Linked DNA regions of Homo sapiens: regions 1 and 2 are each linked to region 3. The links are contacts of gene promoters, found by promoter capture Hi-C in blood cells and fetal thymus (Javierre and others, 2016). All regions are on one chromosome and are shown on one strand. The core of a region is centred on a gene start or on the middle of the fragment in contact, and the rest is flanking DNA. Distances in the headings are between cores, read along the strand shown.

Region 1 (4,607 bases), core at 1,204-3,703, 520 kb after region 3:
CTCAGCCTTGATCCTGTTCCCAGACTTAATTATTCATTCATATACTCATTCATTTATTTAACAAATATTTGTTGAGTGTCTACCATACTTCTTTTTTTTTTAACTTTTAAGTTCAGGGATACATGTACAGGTTCTTTTACATAGATAAAACTTGTATCATGAGGGTTCGTTGTACAGATTATTTCATCTAATAATGGGTACCAGGTATTAAGCCTAGTACCCATTAGTTATTTCTCCTGATCCTCCCTCTCCTCCCACCCTCCACCCTCTGATAAGTCCCAGTGTGTGTTGTTCCCCTCTATGTGTCCATGTGTTCTCATCATTTAGCTCCCACTTATAAGTGAGAACATGTGGTGTTTGGTTTTCTGTTCCTGTGTTAGTTTGCTAAGGATAATGGCCTCCAGCTCCATCCATGTCCCTGCAAAGGACATGATCTCATTCTTTTTTATGGCTGCTTAGTATTCCATGATATATATATACACACACACACATATACACACCACATTTTCTTTATCCAGTCTATCACTGATGGGCATTTAGCCTGCCATGTTTCAGATACTGTACTAGGCACTAGAGTTCTACAAATAATAAAATACTCTTTCTGCTCCCAAGGAATACATAGCCCAGAGGTGGGGGTCCGAACTTGTATTAGTCTGTTCTCGTGCTACTATGAAGAAATACCTGAGACTGGGTAATTTATAAAGAAGAGAGGTTTAACTGACCCACAGTTCCACATCCCTGGGGAGGCCTCAGGAAACTTACAATCATGGCAGAAGACACCTCTTCACAGGGCGGCAGGAGAGAGAATGAGGGCAAGCAGAGGAAATGCCAGACACTTCCAAAACCATCAGGTCTTGTGAGAACTCAGTTACTATCACAAGAACGGTATGGGGAGAAACTGTCCCCATGATTCAATTATATCCCACCTGGCTCCTCCCACAACATGTGGGGATTATGGGGATTACAATTCAAGATGAGATTTAGGTGAGGACACAGCCAAACCATACTAGACATGCAAAACATAAGTGCCATACAGAACTATGAGAGCCACAAGAGAGGAGGGGGCGTAATGCAAGTTGAAGGAGAGTGTGGTGTATCCCACTGCCCTATGGAAGTACTGTCTAAAGAGCGTCCTTGAAGGTGAGTGTGGCAGAAGGCACGTTGACCAAGGGAGATGGTAGGTGCGAATGCCATGGGGCTAAAGAAGTGTGCCACAGGTAAGAGAAATGGACATAATGTAAGGCAAAATTGTCACAAGCCCAGACTTCAGAAAGCAGACCTGTATTGAAAATTCAATTCTCCACATGTGTAACCTTGGGAATGTTATACCTACTGTAAAATGGAGGTAAGAATAGCGCCTACCTGATAAGAATGTTGTGAACATTAATTGCAAAGTAAGTGAAATCCTACCCGGGAGGCCCTTGGCACAGTATGTGTGGCACAATGATCGTGAGGATGGTTGCTGGAACTACAGCAACAAGGAACAGAACAAGATGAGTCTAAATGAGGTTGGCCTGACCCCCAGTGAAGAAGGGTCTTCTGCACCATGCCAAGGAATTTTAATCTGTAAACACTGACTGAAAACCTAGGAGGAATTTTAAGTAACACAGTGCTAAATAATCAGATTTGCGTCTTAAGATCTCTCAGTTAACTGTGTGAAGGATGAATTTAAAACTAGCACAAGAGAATAAATGAGGGCTGAACTGAGACAACAGCTGGGGCATGGTGAGGAGAGGACAGATTTTTGTTGTTGTTGTTGTTTTTTGAGACAGAGTCCTGCTGTCACCCAGGCTGGATTGCAGTGGTGCAATCTCTGCTCACTGCAGCCTCCACCTCCTGGGTTCAAGTGATTCTCCTATCTCAGCCCCCAAGTTGCTGGGACTACAGGTGCACGCCACCACTCCTGGCTGATTTTTTTTGTATTTTTAGTAGAGACGGGGTTTTACCATATTGGTCAGGCTGGTCTCGAACTCCTAACTTCAGGTGATCCACCTGCCTTGGGCTCCCAAAGTGCTGGGATTACAGGCGTGAACCACTGCGCCCGGCCAAGAGGCCAGATCTTGTAGACGTTAAGGAGTAGAAACAATAGGACTCACCCACCAGCAGTTGGTGAGAGGGGTGGGTAAAAGAAAGACAATGACCTTTAGATTTCTGGCTGAAGTGGCTGAAGTGGGAAATCATTAACCAAGAGAAGAAACACAGGAGGTAGAACCAACTGGAGGGGAAAGAAGAGTTTCATTTTAGATGGTAAGCTTCTCACCCTATGGCATATCTAGGCAGAGCTGCCAGTAAATTATTGATAAGTGAATGTGGTGCGGGCTGGACTTACAGAAAGGAAAGCAATAGCATATTATTTATCATCACTTCAAGCTATAGAAATAGAAGTGTTTACCTGGAAAAGCAGTTTAAAATCTGAGGAGAGCAAATTACTACGTTTTTAGGTAACTAAGTCATGGGGACAAAATATCTTAAGAATGAACTCTCTAAAGAAGAGACTTTGACTCAATTTCAAAATGGCTGGAAGGAATCCATCCTGCAGTTCTCCAGCTGGAACCACTGAAAAAAGACATCATAAGGCTTTTTGTGTCTGGGATCATTTACAAATTGTTAAACATTGTCTCAGTAGCAGAAAGTAGATCTGAAAAAGTTGACATTAAGCTTCACTTTGGGAGAGTAAGGGTAGCCATACTGGGCTGTGTAAAGATCTCAAGATTACTCTAGAAATAACCAGAGTGCCTTAAACTACAATATTAAGCATACTTCATTTAGCTAGAGATGTCAGCACATGGTGGATATGCTGAGATGGTTCAAGTAAGTGAAGAGTATGGAGAATGTTAGCCACTCCTTTAAAATACTCAAGTCATGGGGAACCATAAAGAGGAAAAATCGGGTCCATCAATAGGGAGATGGTTTTAAAAAAATGTGGGGGGATATATACAATATCCCAGCAATTTTTTTCATACTCTCATACATAGAAATTAATTGTGACCAAATTCTTATTAACATATTCTGATGTATTAAAGATGTTCTAGGACTACAAATATACATATTACATGTTAAAATAAAGTTATAATTTTTTTTGAGACAGGGTCTGGCTCTGTCATCCAGGCTGGAGTGCAGTGGCATGATCTTGGCTCACTGCAACCTCTGCCTCCTGGGCTCAGGTGATCTTTCCACTTCAGCCTCCTGAGTAGGTGGGACTACAAGCATGCACCACCACACCTGGCTAATTTCTGTATTTTCTTGTAGAGACGGGTTTCACCATGTTCCCCAGACCAGTCTTGAACTCCTAAGCTCAAACTATCTGCCCACCTCAGCCTCCCAAAACACTAGGATTACAAGCATGAGCCACCACACCCAGTCTAAATTATAATTTTTATCATGCATTTGTTAAAGTCCTCTAGAGATGTTAATTCTTTTTTATATTTCTTTTTACTTTTTGAATAAAGACAAGGTCTCCCTATGCTGCTCAGGCTGGTCTCAAACTCCTGAGCTCAAGGCATGAGCCACTGCACCCAGCCTAGAGTTGTTAATTCTGCCTTACAACTGCTCACCCATTTCCCCTATCCCTGCCCCCACCTCCAAAGAACAATTCTATCATATTCCCCATTGTTATCTACTGCCTTTACACATTTATACCGTTTGAAGTTATTTATTTGTTTATATATTTATTTCTCCTCCTCTCCATAAGAATGAAAGCTCCATGAAAGGGAAGGAATTTGTGACTCTTCTCCATGACTGTGTTACCATCTCTTCGCACAGAACCTAGCACACAGTTGGTACTCCAAATGGGTATGTTCAATAAGTTGAACAAATGAAGAGAGTTTTTGTTTTTTAATAAGTTTTACCATATTAGAGAGGACTTCTCTGGTCACCCTATCTAAAACACCATCCCTCAACACTTCCTGTATCTTTACCTTCTTTTTTCTTCTTAACATTCATCGCTACCTGATAGATTCTGTATTTATTGGTTTCTGTCTGCCTCCCCCATAAGCATGTGAGCTCCGTGGCCACAGGCTGTTATTCTCACTGCTGTACCCCCCGGTGCTTAGAACAGTACCTAGCAAGCTCGATGCTGGGCAAAGCAGGTTGCATAAGTCAGTGAATTTACATAAAATTTGGATTACATGCTACAGTTCTTTTCTGTATATGCAGTACATTTTTTTTTCCTGTCCTAATTGTGATATATTGACATCATCATCGTTCTATTAATCCTAGTTCACATACATCACCTAGGTGCTGTGATAAGTGTGAAGCTTAAAGTCGGTGATAATTGTGCTGGCATGTTTCTCCCTTGCCAGATGCTCTACTTTTCCCTCCTCTCTTCCTCCCCAGGCCTCTCCCCCAAACACTCACGAACCCATGGCCTCATGCTCTCTCCAGTCTTCTGGATCAGCAGATCCAGGCAGGGCCCCTAATCTGAACTTCCATCTTTATCATAATTTACCTCTCCACTTCTCTGTGTATTGACAACCATTTTGAGTAACTATGTACTCCCTGCATTACAGCCATCACATAATTCATTCTTCATAACAGCCCTAATGAGTAGTCTATTAATACTACCCCTCATTATAAGCAAGAAAACAAATCCTAAACTTGAAGAACTT
Region 2 (4,607 bases), core at 132-2,631, 630 kb after region 3:
TGGATTGCTGAGAAACTGAACATATCTATTACTCTACTAGCTAGCGCATCCATAGCTCATTCTATTTTCTAAAAAGTTATGAGCCATTAGCTGCAGGAAATATTTCAGCTGAATTTGGCATGTTTGTCATTTTTAACTTCACTTTGGCAAACAAGGAAGAGTGGAAAACACAAAGCTGGATTTCCCAGAGCTGTGTTAAGTCATTTGAAGCAAACAAAATTGCAGTTTATAATTTAACCAATGCATTAACCAACATTTGCAAACATTAATCCCTAAGTCTGAAGGTTTACTTTAAATGCAAGACAGATTTGAAGTATTAACAAAAAAGAAAAAAAATAGCAATGTTCTTAAAAAAAAACTTTGCATGGAATATATATTTTTATAGGAAGACTATATTTTAAATAATCTAGTTATTTGTGCCTTAAAAAGAATAAATTATAATTCATAAGGCATTAGATGACTATATATACATCAGCTACATTTACCACTTCAGATATATTTACATTCTCAGTGCAATAATTGATAGCTAATCAAATATATCTCAAATATTTTACAAAATTCTCCAAGTAAAATTAATTCTACATCACCAAAAAAATGTAATGCATATGCCATTAAACACTTTGGATAAGAAAAAAGACGCTGTTAAATCTAACTCCAAAAATATATGGGAATTTGATTTTGAGTTTCATCATTCAAATGATTGATTTTATTTTACTAGGTATTTTGAAGACATGACAAATTATGAGAAGACAATCTAAAACAAAGCCCACAGTTTTTTGCTTGTTTGTTTATTTTAGTAAAGCTATACTTTTTTTTTAATTCCATGGATATAGTGGTAAATTTAAGCAGTGCGTGGTGGAGAAAAGGGAATATTTAACAAAGTGATAGCTCTTACAAATAATACTTTGTACTAGACACTGATTAGGAAATGTTTGAGAATTGCAAAAAAAAACTGCACACAGGGCTGTGTTAGGTTGGCTAGAAAAATGACTTACTTTCTGCATATAGGAAGAGATTTGTTCTAGGTATCATACAGTCCAGTTACAAGGTACATCTTCTGAGAACTAGAATCTTCCTTCTATCATGTTTAACAATCCTACATCTTCCCCCAACTCCCTCTGCTTTTAGAAAACTGTTACCCATAATTGGCCAACATATTAAACACATTTCAGTCTTCTTTAAGTGCATATACTCACCTCGTCTTTTCCACTATTTGGCACTCTGCAATACACTTCCCCTGTTGATGGGTCGTAAGAATCTATATATGAGCTACAAGGTAAAAATTTTCCATCTATGAAGTTTTCCAGCATCAAAAGTGCGTTTGTTCCAGCCATAGCAAGGAAAAATTCTGCCTTTCCTCTTTACGACTGAGCACTCAGGTTGTCCCCACCACTGTCTGGACTCCTGAGTGAGCCTCCCCCTTCCCAGCCCCCATCTTCCCCTTTACCAATCAGTGAATGTGGGAGGGCACCTGACGCTCTCAGAGAGCATTCCAGTCTCCAAACTCAGAACTAAGAGAGTGGCTGAATGTTTCACAGACTTCTAGTACATTACCTGACATGGATAATTGTGTGTAAAAGTAACAGCTACTTACTTATGTGTTCATAGCCCTTTAAATCATCAGAAGGCATCTGTGCATGTGATTTTATTGGGTTCACACCGTAAACTGTTCATTGCTCAAACACTGATTGGATGCCAGGCCCCAAAGCAAGTCCTTTACATGAATTTACTCGTTTATTCCACACAACAATCCTATATGAAGTAACCATTACTTCCTCTCTTTTATAGAAGAAACTGAGCCTTGGAGAGGTTAGACCATTTTTCCAAGGTCACATAGTTAGCAGGGGATGAACTGTAGCCCTTTAATCTCCAAATCATATACTTTTTCCTCAATGCATCACTGCTTACCCTGCAGAGGTAACTGAAGACAGATGCCCTCTTTCCGTGGCTCATCTGTGTTTCTTTACCTTGGCTGCCCTCTCTTGGAAGAGCTGTCTCTCCATCCCAAAACCGGGGCCACAGTGGCTGCTCACATCTTCCTAGATGTGCCATGGAGATAAAGACAAGCCAAAAACATGTGTGACACATATAGCAAGGGCTTCAGATCCCTGATGTAGCTGAGAATTTCTACAAATTGGTAAGAGAAATGAGCACCCCAACAGAAAAGATAAGCAAAGATACAAAAAAGCAATCCATAGGAAAAGGAACACAATTGGCTAATGAATATATTAACAATGTTCAGCCTTGTTGTTAAGCAAGGAATGTGAAATACAGAGGTGGCCTGATTTGCCAATCATACTGGAGAGCATTTTTAAAGATTGAGAACATCTACTCTGTGAGGATGTGGAGAATCATCCCTAGTCCATAGGCGGGAGGGTTCACAGAACACTGCTTGGGGCAATTTGTCAGGGTCTGGTCAATTTCTCTTCTAGGAATCTCTCCTACAGAATTACGTGCTCATGAACAAGTACATAAGTCACAGGACATCCTTTTTTATCATAATTTAAAAATCAAAACAACCTAAAGTCCATCAATTGGAGAATATTAGAGTATAATTGTTATATTCTTAACAGGGAATACTACTTAGACATTAGAAGGATGCATTGTTAAGTGAAAAAATAAAACTAGTGAATAATATATACAGCATAGTTTCTTTGGCTATTTACATGGTTGACAGGAAGCCGTTTTAAACTGCTTGGATATTTTATGGCAAGCCTATATTACTTTTATAATTATGATTTATAGTTATAATTCAGTTGAAGGTTAGGTACCAATATTCTAAAATTCATTGATCACATGAGGGCACTTGCTGGCCGTGCACCTCCTTAGGCCCTCTCTGCTTCCATCTTTATTGGTCTCTAGATATTCTCCAAAATTCTTGCTGAGACTTCTGACAAGCATGGTGTGGCTGATTCTGGGAGGCCCAGAGCAGCTGGAGTCTGGAGCTGGCGCCGTTGCCTGTCGCTGGAGAGTCGCTGACAGGGACTGGAGACAGAAGGTAGTCTCAGGCTTTTTCTGGTGCTGCCCACGGTCAGGTCAGCTGGAAACAGAATGAGAGAAATACGCAGGTCCCAGCCCTGGCACCACAGAGTGAAGTACCAAGAAGTGAGCTTGGTGCTGAGAGACAGTGAGTACCACCCGGTGTGTGCATAAAGACTTCTGTAGCCCATCTTCCTGGGTCTCCAACAACTCTGCCTAATGTTGATGGACTCATCAGAATGTTTGTCTTTTTGTACAGAGTGCAAAAGATTCTAATGGGAGGACTATGGAAGGGAGATCTTTTTGAAGAAAGGACTTTACCCAGGATAGCATGAGAGAGGAATTTTCTGCCACGTGACAGTAGAAGAGGACAGAAGCCGGACACGGTGCTTCTAAAGAGTGCCTGGTGCTGATCAGAACTCCCCACACAAGATCAGTCCCAGTGGCAGAGCAGGCGTGTCTGTCAGTTACAGTGGCCTCCTTGTGCCATTTTCTTGTGCCATTGGCTGCTCAAGCTGGGCCTTCGCTGGTTTTTCTTTTTCTTTTTTTTTTTTTGAGACAGAGTTTCACTCTTGTTGCCCGGGCTGGAGTGCAATGGCATGATCTCAGCTCACAGCAACCTCTGCTTCCTGGGTTCAAGCAATTCTCCTGCCTCAGCCTCCCAAGTAGCTGGGATTACAGGTATGTGCCACCACGCCTGGCTAATTTTGTATTTTTAGTAGAGACGGGGTTTCACCATGTTGGTCAGGCTGTTCTCAAACTCCTGACCTCAAGTGATCCGCCCTCCTCAGCCTCCCAAAGTGCTGGGATTACAGGCGTGAGCCACTGTGCCTGGCCTCGCTGGTTTTTCATAATGTACTTGGCCTTCCCCCACTTCCCCCTGTCAGCCCTTTTCTGTCCACAGTGCAACCATTTGATCCCCACCTGCAGGTCAACCACAGAGATGACTCTGGAATCAGAGCTCAGCTGAGCTGGGAGACTTTCATCCTGGAGGACAGAGCATGGGCCTCATTCAGAGTCTGGTCATGTCAGTTGACCCCAGTCCTGATACCTGAGCTCTGACATGCCTTCAAGGCCTTTTCTCTAAGTTGGCACCAACGTTTCTCCTGTCGGTTTCCCTTGAAGAGACATGAAATCCTATATCTGGGCCTAGTGGCTGAGAACCTACTTCTAGGTAGTTCTACCTGCTTCACTGGACATGTGGGTATCACCTGCTCCTGAATTATTCTGGCTGGCTCCATCTGCTCGCCAGTGTGTCCTGCTGAATGCAGATCTGTTCTTACCACATCCCTGTAACAGCATTCTGACCCATGGGTGAAACGTACTCCCATTTGCGGTCACAGAATCCACCCCCCACCACATCCCAAGGGGTGGATTCACTGCCAGGTCCTGCACAGTGAGGACAGGGGACTCAAGACCTTGAGTGCAACTGAGAAAAAATTATAAATGGGAGGTATTAAGTATACTAATATTCTAAGAGAACTAGTTGCTCTAGAATATTACAAAAGAGAATAGGGTGTTTTTATCTAATACAACAAAAGTTATTCTCTTTAAAAGGGGAAAGACAATCCTGATTTAGGGGGCCCCAGGTGTACTGGAGTTTTGTTTTTACCCACAGTGGTAAACAA
Region 3 (4,625 bases), core at 823-3,322:
GTACTCCCACTCCAAGAGCAGGGGCCAGGACAGGTTGGTTTCATTTTGGTTTGAATGCATATGCTTTGGCCCACAGACTTGGAGAAAGATTTTGCTTTACTGATGAGAACTCAGTCAAGGGTGCTTGGGAGCCTTCGCTGGCCCTCTAGCTGGGCCTGACATGTTGCCTGCATTTCTAGCCTTGCCTTCCCAGCTTGCCCATTTGGTGCAGGGAGATAGTCCAGCCCACCCTGAAATTCACTGTGTTCTGCGGATGAGTTAACTGAAGGGCTGTGTTTCAGGAGTGGCACAGAAAGGACCTGAATGAAAGGAAGGAGGAATGAATGGAGAGAACCATTTTGGTGGAATTGCCCTAGGGTATTAAATAGGATGGGGCAACTGGGGACTGGAGGATGTTCCTTCTCTTACGTTGCTTAGGAAACACTGTCCTTAAGAGTGTCAGTGTCATTCCTTTAACAATCATTCATTTCTTACCTCCCGCTTGTGTATAAATTTGCAGATTTACACAGACCACCAGTGTGGCCATCCCAGTGAACTGAGTTTATTGTGAAATATACATGCAAAAAAATCCTTTTTTCTCACCTACAACCAATGCAACATTATTCATACTTTGAGTTGAAGAATAAGGAGTTTAAGAAATAAATGCATACAGCAACATAACCCTGAATTATCACTCAAATACAGACCTCCCACTGCTCTCTCCCAAAAAAAAAAAAAAAAAAAAAAAAAAAAAGGCAGTTATTCTAAGCAAAAGCAAAAATTGAGGCAACTTAAAATAGACAATTTTAAATGCTGGATTCCATCATTTCTGTAAAAGGTCATTCTACTCCTTTGCTATTTATACCACAGATAGAGACACAGCAAATTATTGGCTGAATGGATTTGGGAAACCAGAAGCTGCTGCTTCTGACGAACGAAGATGATAATGCATCACTTGAGACTGAGTGGATGAAAGGTGTAGAAAAGTTGAACCCTTCAAAGATGAGAGGAAGCTGCTAAATTAGCCCCTGACTAAATTACTAGCCATAATTGTACTCAAGCCAGTTCTCTTTGCGACTGCCTTGTAATCTTTGTTGTGGCTTGAGAGAGAAAAATCCCCATTCCCAGCTCAAACCCGTTTAAGGCATCTCAGCCCAACCCCCTCCTCCCAATGCAACTCTTCATAGCCCCCTGCCCCTCCTCCAACAAATTCTAATCAAGTCAGGTATAGTTCTCAGCTTTACCACTGCCATCAGAAGCACGGCTTACATTAAGGGTTTAGCAACAAAACCTCAGGCTTACTTCAGGCAAACATTCAAAAGCATTTAAGAGAAGCACAGAAAACAAAAGAAATAAGCAAAACCTGTCCTTACCCGCTTCTTAAAAAATTGGAAGGCTGAGCATTTCTTGACTGGGAATCCATTCATGTCTTTGTTTACCATTTTCCACCGTGGGGAATTCACAGTTATAGATCCAGGTTGGCACCCGCCTGGTTAGTGCATATCTGTTTCCCCGGTTTACCTCCTGCAGACAGTTAATGAAGACTGAGCGGGATGGAGAATCTAGCGGGGCTCAGTTCTTCACTCGCGCATTCTGCAGCACCAGCTACTGCAGCAACCTCTCCCCACTTTCAGTTGCCACCGACAGCGGCTTTTCTCCTTCCATCATTGCTCCGAAACATATGCATCACCGCTGCAGGACCCTGGGGGCCGGACGGTGGGATACGGCCAATCTCCGGGGAGATGCTGTGGCTCTTACCGAGCGGGAGAAGGGTACGCCTCCCCGCCCCCAGCTACCTGGCTGCTCTTCCGCGGCCGGCGCGGGGAGCGAGTCGCTCTTCTCCAGGTGATGCGCTCCTGGAGGCGGCTTGAGAGAGGAGAGTTGTTTTTGATTGTGCAAGTTCCAGTGGGAGCTGTAGTTAAGCAGCTGAGAGAAGGAGTAAGAAAGAGCAGAAGCCAGAGGGAGGGAGGGAGAACAGCGCCAGAAAGGCAGAGGGAGCGAGAAGGCGAGGCTGGAAGAAGCAACGGTTCATGAATATCTGAGCAGCGGATGGAGAGAAGGCACAGCCGGCTCAGGGCACACTGAAGAGCAGTTGACTCCCCTTGGGAGGGTTACTTTAAATAGCTTCTTTTCTTTCTTTCTTTTTTTTTTTTTTTGGTTAGGACCATTTAAATCAGAGTTTCATATAAATTGCACACCGTTTTTATTTTATGCTCATTGACATTCTTTTGAATCCTGTTGCTGAATAAAAGCCTCTCAACGGAAATGTAATCACATTTAATCTCGACCTGTCCAAACGTGGAAGAAAATGAAATAAAGTGCAAGCGTAGGTATAACAATGGAAGATCTCTCACTATGTAGAAGCTCTTTTAGCCTCCCCTCCCCTACTTGTCATTATATAGTGGGCAATGGTGACGGTAATTGTGTCTTTTTCATTAAAACAGCTTATTAAAAAAAGAACACAATGAACATATACAAAGTACTTTATTACACACATACACACACACACGAGTTATTACCAAAAAGTACTACTGAATCCATTTAATGATGAGGAAGGTTTGATAAATAAAAGAGTAAAGCATTCTTCCTATTAGGTGAAAAATTTCCCAAAAAATCCTTACTCATGTTATCCTTTGCACACTGAGCTCCTTTTAAAAAAGCCATTTAATTGTATGTGGCTTATTTTTCCATTTTTATTCTTTAATGTTGATATTTTATGGGAATGATTTTAAAGATTAGTTGATAGTAAAGCAAGAAAGCAAAGAAAATAAACTTGGCATCTGACCTGGCAGAAAGCCACCAACATCGGTGTGTGGCTTTCTGCCATCACCTGACCTCACTGTGCCTTTCGGACACTGCCTCATCCATAAAATGGAGGCAGCCACTCATTCATTCATTCACTCATTCATTTATTTAGTCATTCATTATTTGCTATTTCATTCCATTAATAAATCTAACTCTGACAAGTGTCCTCAGGATGTGGAGCCTTTTCATAATCATCACAAGGGAATATAATTGATAAATAAGTGAAAGGCGCAATGCTAATTTGAAACTGATTATGACCTCATTATATATAACACACCTAACATTGTTAAAGTATTTACATGGAAGTCTCTGGTAAGAAGAGAAACATCAGGTTAAACTGGGAAAGAAATGCATGGGTTTCATTGAATTGGACTATAAATCTCTACAGTTGGGCCAGAGTTTTTGGGAATAAACATGAAATCCTGTTTGCTAAATGCCTTGAGGTTTCCAAAAAGAAAATGCAATACAACTAAATGATGGCATGATAACCAAGGGAAAACAACTATTCATTTTGGAGAGATATGTTAAGTTGTCCAAGATGCAAGTATATGTTATGTAATCTACAACATTGATAAGTTTTTGTGGTTCTTCTAAAGAGTTCATTTAAAATTATGGTAGTTCAAAGGGAATTATTTTGAGACGATGGAAGTGTTCTCTATCATGATGATGGTGGTGGTTACATAACTATGCATTTGTCAGAACTCATCAAATTTTATATAGGAAAAGGGAAACTTTTGCTGCATGTAAATTATACCTCAATGGACCTCATTTTAAAAAATGATGGTCATTCAAGTTCTTTCTTTTTCGTCCCATTGCCACTCCCCCAAAAGTGTTTTAACAGACATTTATTGAATTTGAGTAATATACAGGAGGGGACCTTTAAGCACTCTGCTAGGAAGGAGGTGCTGGGGCTTTGCTTAATCCCACATTGGCCTAGCATGCATACTGGTTGATATCATTTGGCTGTGTCCCCACCCAAATCTCGTCTTGAATTGTAGTTCCCACAGTGAGTGATTTCTCATGAGATCTGATGGTTTTATAAGGGGCTTTTCTCCCTTTTGCTCAGCACTTCCCCTTCCTGATGCCATGTGAAGAAGAATGTGTTTGCTTCCCCTTCTGCTCTGATTGTAAGTTTCCTGAGGCCTCCCCAGCCATGCTGAACTGTGAGTCAATTAAACCTCTTTCCTGTATAAATTACCCATCTCACTATGTCTTTATTAGCAGTGTGAGAACGGACTAATACCCTGGTTTCATGTAGGATGTATGTTCATTTGGGGTGCAGGCGGGTGGTTAATAGAGATTATGAGGGAGGAGAAGACAAGCTAAATGCTATCTTTTCCCTCACTCCATGCCACCTCTTGAAGATGCTGCCACTGTCACTTGGTCTATGCTAGATCCTATGGAAGGTCCAGTGCATGTAAGTGTCACTGGTTTTTGTCACCAAGGAACTCACAGCCTAGTAGAGAAATATACAGTGTGGTAAGAATACTATATACAGTAGTCCTCCCTTATCTGAGGTTTTACCTTCCACAGTTTCAGTTACCTAAGGTCAACAATGGTCTGAAAATCAGTGAGTACAATACGATACTTTTAGAGACACAGAGAGAGACCACAGTCACATCATTTTTATTATCGTACATTGTTAAAATTATTCTACTATTGTTGTTAATCTCTTACTGTGCTTGATTTATAAATTAAACTTTATTATAGGTATGTATGTACAGGAAAAAACATAATGTATATGGAGTTTGGTACTATCTGAAGTTTCACGCATCCATGGGGGGGGTCTTGGAATGTATCCCCCATGGATAAGAGTGTACTACTCTGTGTGTGTGTGTGTG

The links. The method cuts DNA at HindIII sites, captures the fragments that hold promoters and counts their contacts. A CHiCAGO score of 5 or more calls a contact.
Region 1: a fragment that was not itself captured here is called in contact with the fragment with the promoter of SGK1 in region 3 in 1 of 17 cell types (monocytes); the score reaches 5.7 in monocytes.
Region 2: a contact is called between the fragment with the promoter of ALDH8A1 here and the fragment with the promoter of SGK1 in region 3, in 10 of 17 cell types (naive CD4 T cells, naive CD8 T cells, fetal thymus and 7 more). The highest score is 11.2, in naive CD4 T cells.

The regions. Positions count from the first base shown.
Region 1 is chr6:134,838,131-134,842,737 of GRCh38, forward strand. All of the region lies in intron 2 of LOC101928277 (a long non-coding RNA gene), which reads right to left. Among named protein-coding and RNA genes, the nearest start is that of ALDH8A1, 110 kb to the right of the region's middle. The HindIII fragment of the contact is 406 bases long and covers 2,251-2,656 here.
Region 2 is chr6:134,948,720-134,953,326 of GRCh38, forward strand. It overlaps ALDH8A1 (aldehyde dehydrogenase 8 family member A1), which reads right to left and starts at 1,382. Exons shown (of 7, transcript NM_022568.4): 1 at 1,197-1,382. The coding sequence starts at 1,334. The HindIII fragment of the contact is 9,755 bases long and covers 1-4,607 here.
Region 3 is chr6:134,316,040-134,320,664 of GRCh38, forward strand. It overlaps SGK1 (serum/glucocorticoid regulated kinase 1), which reads right to left and starts at 2,073. Exons shown (of 14, transcript NM_001143676.3): 1 at 1,353-2,073. The coding sequence starts at 1,421. RefSeq lists an enhancer at 1,621-1,900. The HindIII fragment of the contact is 10,717 bases long and covers 1-4,625 here.